2 separate regions of the Homo sapiens genome follow, and region 1 is linked to region 2. The links are contacts of gene promoters, found by promoter capture Hi-C in human tissues and cell types (Jung and others, 2019). All regions are on one chromosome and are shown on one strand. Each heading gives the region's core, a stretch centred on a gene start or on the middle of the fragment in contact. The rest is flanking DNA. Distances are from core to core; before and after follow the strand shown. Region 1 overlaps LOC107987053 (a long non-coding RNA gene). Region 2 holds the start of IFNA1 (interferon alpha 1).

The links. Contacts are between HindIII fragments. The study calls those that stand out against the background at their distance.
Region 1: a contact is called between a fragment that was not itself captured here and the fragment with the promoter of IFNA1 in region 2, in 1 of the 25 tissues and cell types used here (liver).

The regions. Positions count from the first base shown.
Region 1 is chr9:21,295,297-21,298,146 of GRCh38, reverse strand. All of the region lies in intron 2 of LOC107987053 (a long non-coding RNA gene), which reads right to left. Among named protein-coding and RNA genes, the nearest start is that of IFNA5, 8.6 kb to the left of the region's middle. The HindIII fragment of the contact is 5,447 bases long and covers 1-2,850 here.
Region 2 is chr9:21,438,889-21,441,798 of GRCh38, reverse strand. IFNA1 (interferon alpha 1) reads right to left here and starts at 1,360. Exons shown (of 1, transcript NM_024013.3): 1 at 483-1,360. The coding sequence starts at 1,291. The coding sequence ends at 722. The HindIII fragment of the contact is 13,457 bases long and covers 1-2,910 here.

The DNA.
Region 1 (2,850 bases), core at 348-2,847, 140 kb after region 2:
GAACTCAAACAAATTTACAAGAGAAAATCAAACAACCCCATCAAAAAGTGGGCGAAGGATATGAACAGACACTTCTCAAAAGAAGACATTTATGCAGCCAAAAAACACGTGAAAAAATGCTCATCATCACTGGCCATCAGAGAAATGCAAATCAAAACCACAATGAGATACCATCTCACACTTGTTAGAATGGCGATCATTAAAAAGTCAGGAATAAACAGGTGCTGGAGAGGATGTGGAGAAATAGGAACACTTTTACACTGTTGGTGGGACTGTAAACTAGTTCAACCATTGTGGAAGAAACTGTGGCTATTCCTCAGGGATCTAGAACTAGAAATGCTATTTGACCTGGCCATCCCATTACTGGGTGTATACCCAAAGGTTTATAAATCATGCTGCTATAAAGACACATGCACATGTATGTTTATAGCGGCACTATTCACAATAGCAAAGACTGGGAACCAACCTAAATGTCCAACAACGATAGACTGGATTAAGAAAATGTGGCACATATACACCATGGAATACTATGCAGCCATAAAAAATGATGAGTTCATGTCCTTTGTAGGGACATGGATGAAACTGGAAACCATCATTCTCAGCAAACTATAGCAAGGACAAAAAACCAAACACCGCATGTTCTCACTCATAGGTGGGAATTGAACAATGAGAACACATGGACACAAGAAGGGGAACATTACACACTGGGGACTGTTGTGGGGTGGGGGAAGGGGGGAGGGATAGCATTAGGAGATATACCTAATGCTAAATGACGAGTTAATGGGTGCAGCACACAAGCATGGCACATGTATACATATGTAACAAACCTGCACGTTGTGCACATGTACCCTAAAACTTAAAGTATAATAATAATAAAATAAAAAATATATAAATATAATAAAATAAAATATCATTATGCTTTACAGAGATAGTTCAGTTGACGGCATTAATCAGCAACAAAATACAACTTTTTAAGGATTACCAGCAATTTTGTGAAAATAATTAAGAATAATAGATCATAGTAAAAATACATCCTTTAGAAAAAAAAAAGAAATATGTTCTCCAAGTTGCTTGGTTTCTCTCTCTGTCTCTCAGGCATGCCAATAAGTCATAGATTGGGTCTCTTTACATAATCTTATATTCCTTGGAAGTTTTGTTTATTCTTATTGTTTTTTCTTTATTTGTCTCTGACTGAGTTATTTGGAAGAGCCAGTTTTCAAGCTCTGAGAGTCTTTCCTCAGCTTGGTCAATTCTGCTGTTAATACTTGCAATTGCATTATGAAATTCCTGTACAGTATTTTTCAGCTCTATCAATCAGTTTGATTCTTTCTTATAGTGACCATTTCATCTATTAGCTCCTGTATCGTTTTATTGTAATCCTTAGACTCCTTGGATTGGATTGGGTTTCAACTTTCCCCTATATGTCGATGATCTTCATTCCTATCCATATTCTGAATTCTATTTCTGTCAATTCAGCCATCTTAGCCTGGTTAGGAACCATTGCTGTAGAACTAGTGTGGATGTTTGTAGGTAAGAAGTCACTCTGGTTTTCTGAGTTGCCAGAGTTCTTGAACTGGTTCTTTCTCATCTTTGTGGGCTGATGGTCCTTCAATCTTTGAAGTTGCTAACCTTTGGATTGCTTTTATTTCTTTTATCCTATGTAACATTCTTTGGGGTTTAGTTTTGCTATAATGTGGGTTCAGTCAATTGGCTTAATCTATGGGGATTTAAGTGGGCCAAGGCTCAGCTTAGGAGCCCTGAACTGCATGATCCTACTGTGGGTGTCTACTATCAGGCCTGAAGCTTCATTCTGGGGCCCCTGGAGATTCGCAACCTGCCATGCTGAAGGGGCCTAATTTGCTCCTGAACCACTGGTCAGAACACTCTGATAGGTGGTGCCAGCCACAGTGATTCATAGAGTGGTGGCAGTGGGATCCTTCCTCATTTGCATGTGTCAGCAGCTTGGGAAGGCAAATGCTCATTGACTGCAGTGGGGCACTGGTGAGTGCAGGGGTGTTGGACTCCATGTAGGCATTCACAGTGGCAGTGGTGGCAGCACAGTGCAGAGGCTGCAGGAGCTCAGTTTTTTTATAAATATAATGGGTTCAAATATTTATATAGTTGTTATTCCTAAATGAACACATATAGTTTAAAGCACTGTGTGTGGTATCCTTCACAGAGTAAGGATTTAAAATATGGCAGGTATTTTTCTATTTTCCTTCATCCAGCTAGAGAAGAGAATATTATTCGTCTTTCTATAACATTCTTAGGAACTACGTCCTCCCTTTCAGAAACCCATCTCCAAAGGAGGCAAACTAAAAACCTAGAATTCTGTCAAAAAATCTGGAGGGGTTGAAAAATTATCCCTCCTTATTTCAAAGAAGTTTGCTATTTGTATTCAGTCAGGAAATGGTGGCTTGTATAAATACCTGAGAGAGAAGAAGCACCATCTAGATTGAAGTGCAGAAGATATATGATGTTTATTAGCTGATTCTGGCACCTGGCACATTCCCTTTCTGGCTCTCAGAATTCCAGAATATACTTCCATATAAAGTTAGTCTCCTAAACTGAAGTGAAATATACATAGCAACCTTTGCTGGTTCTGAGACCTGGCACACTTCCCCCTTTCCTCCCTGTTTTTCTGGATCCCATTTTTAACTCCCATATCACAATAATTTCCTTCCTCTTCTTCTAGAAATCCGCACTGTTCTCTTCTCTTCACTCTTCATTAACCTGCATTGCCTCTTCATACAGCTGTTCTCAGTTCTCTTGTGGGTTTTGTCCACCAATTTCCCCTTAAGAGTACAAAACCACAAATTAAAGCAGACGTTGAATGAAAGTTCTAGGTTT
Region 2 (2,910 bases), core at 111-2,610:
CCAGCAACTGCATTCCTTGTAAGTTGCAAACTCATATATCCAACTGGCAATAGACATTTTCTACTAGATGTTTACCAGTCAACTTTTGAGGATATCTGTTTATTTTTATTTCCTCACCTGTCTCAGTTTACCCGCTGCTGAGAGAAATCATTAGTTGCTCCTTCTTCTCATAGTATTTAGGATAACTGATATTAAGTATGATTACCATCTTTAGTTTTATTCCATACAAAAACCAAATATGCAAGAGAGTAGGAAGTAGATTTATTGTATTCAGCTTTATATCTTGAGTACAACATACAACCTGGTTTAGAGAAAGGTCATTTTTACTTACATCTTACATATAATAATGATAAGCAAATAAAATATACCCTTTATTCTCTAATCAGGTTGCACAGTCAGGCTAGGAATTTCATATTAAAGAATGAACACATACAGGAAGTTCCTATAGTAAAAGTTTAATGAACAACACAAAATAATGGATTGAGTAAATATAAGGAACATGTTTTATTACACTAACCACAGTGTAAAGGTGCACATGACGTTATATGAACAAAAATAATTTAAATCTTATGAATAGTTAAATAAATATTTAAATAGATAAATCAGTTTATCAGCATGGTCATAGTTATAGCAGGGGTGAGAGTCTTTGAAATGACAGAATTCATGAAAGCGTGACCTGGTGTATGAGTCAATAAGAATTGTTTTCATGTTGGACCAGATGTTATTCCTTCCTCCTTAATCTTTCTTGCAAGTTTGTTGATAAAGAGAGGGATCTCATGATTTCTGCTCTGACAACCTCCCAGGCACAAGGGCTGTATTTCTTCTCTGTCAGATAGAGAGTGATTCTTCGGAAGTATTTCTTCACAGCCAAGATGGAGTCCGCATTCATCAGGGGAGTTTCTCCCACCCTCTCCTCCTGCATCACACAGGCTTCCAAGTCATTCAGCTGCTGGTAGAGTTCGGTGCAGAATTTGTCTAGGAGGTCCTCATCCCAAGCAGCAGATGAATCTTTTGTGGTAAAGAGGTTGAAGATCTGCTGGATCAGCTCATGGAGGACAGAGATGGCTGGAGCCTTCTGGAACTGGTTGCCATCAAACTCCTCCTGGGGAAATCCAAAGTCATGTCTGTCCATCAGACAGGAGGAAGGAGAGATTCTGCTCATTTGTGCCAGGAGCATCAAGGTCCTCCTGTTATCCAGGCTGTGGGTCTCAGGGAGATCACAGCCCAGAGAGCAGCTTGACTTGCAGCTGAGCACCACCAGGACCATCAGTAAAGCAAAGGGCGAGGCCATCGTAGATATTGCAGATACTTCTGGGCTTGCTGAGATGGGTGACTCTGAACCTTGGGCTCTAGGTTCTCTGAAGGCCTTGCTTCCTGCAAATGCCTTAAATAGGGAACATACTGATTTCCACTTTCTTAATGCTTCTGGGCCACTTTCCATTTCTGTTTTTGCTTTCCTTCATGCACTCTTTACATGAGTTTAGAGCCGTGTTTCTCAAATGTTTTGTTTTTCATTATTGTCTTCCCCATCTTGTTCCCAGAGACTTTTTAGATATCTTTTTCCTAATTGAACCCACCGTGAAAATTTAATAACACAGATACAATATGTATCTATTTATATACTATATGTATATCTCTATAATCAAAAAGTACAAAGTTTAATCTTTGTATTCAATGCAGGTTTAAAAATAACCAAATGAAAAATTTAAGCTAAAAGTTAAATTTAAAATCTATTCAAATTTTTCTTAACTTTATAACTAAATTTGCTTATGGACTTCAACGTAATTTATTTACTGATATAAATTGTACTGTAGGCCTGGCGAGGTGGCTCACGCCTGTAATCCCAGCACTTTGGGAGTCCGAGGTGGGTGGATCACGAGGTCAGGAGTTCAAGACCAGCCTGGCCAAGACGGTGAAACCCCATCTCAACGAAAAAAACAAAAAAAAAACAAAAAAAAAATTAGCTAGGCATGGTTGTGTGCACCTGTAATCCCAGCTACTCAGGAGGCCGAGGCAGGGAATTCCTTGAACTCATGAGGTGGAGGTTGCAGTGAGCCGAGATTGTGCCACTGCACTCCAGCCTGGGTGTCAGAGTGAGACTCTGTTTCAAAAAACAAACAAACAAATAAATTGTAGTGTATCAAATTACATAAGCAAATTAACAAATTATAAACATTTTCTAATGTTTATAGATAAACATTTTCTAAGTAATGAATACTTAAAAATTATTTGAAAGTGATAAACACTTAAAACTTTAAAATATTTTTATCATTTATTTTTAGTGTTCTTACGTTTTTTTAGATCTGATTACTCCTGAATTTCACCAAACATTTAAACAGAACCAAATCTTTGAAAAAATTAAGGAGGAATACTCCCAAACTCATTTTATGAAGCCAGCATTACCTTGATACCTAAGCCAGAGATGGACATTACAAGAAAAAAAAAAATTACAGCCAATATTCCTGATGAACACAGATGCAAAATCATCCACAAAGTAGTTGCAAATGAAATTCAAAAGCACTATAAAAGGATCATTTATTATGATCAAGCTTGATTTATTCCTGGGATGCAAGAATATTTTAATATGTTGGAATCAATAAATGCCATACTCCTTATTTACACAATAAAAGATTAAAAATCATAACTATTTTTATGCATGCCTAAAATTATTTTGACAAAATTTAAAATCCATCTCTAATACAATTTATAACAAATTAGGTATATAAAGAATATACCTCAGAATAAAGAGACACATTCCTTATTAGCTATAAGATAAGCCATTAGCTAACACTATAGTCAGTGGTGAAATGTTGGAATCTTTTTTCTGAGATTTATTATAAGATAAGGATGCCCACTCTCACTACTTCTTTCAACACAGTACTGGAAATCCTACTCAGAATATTAGACAAG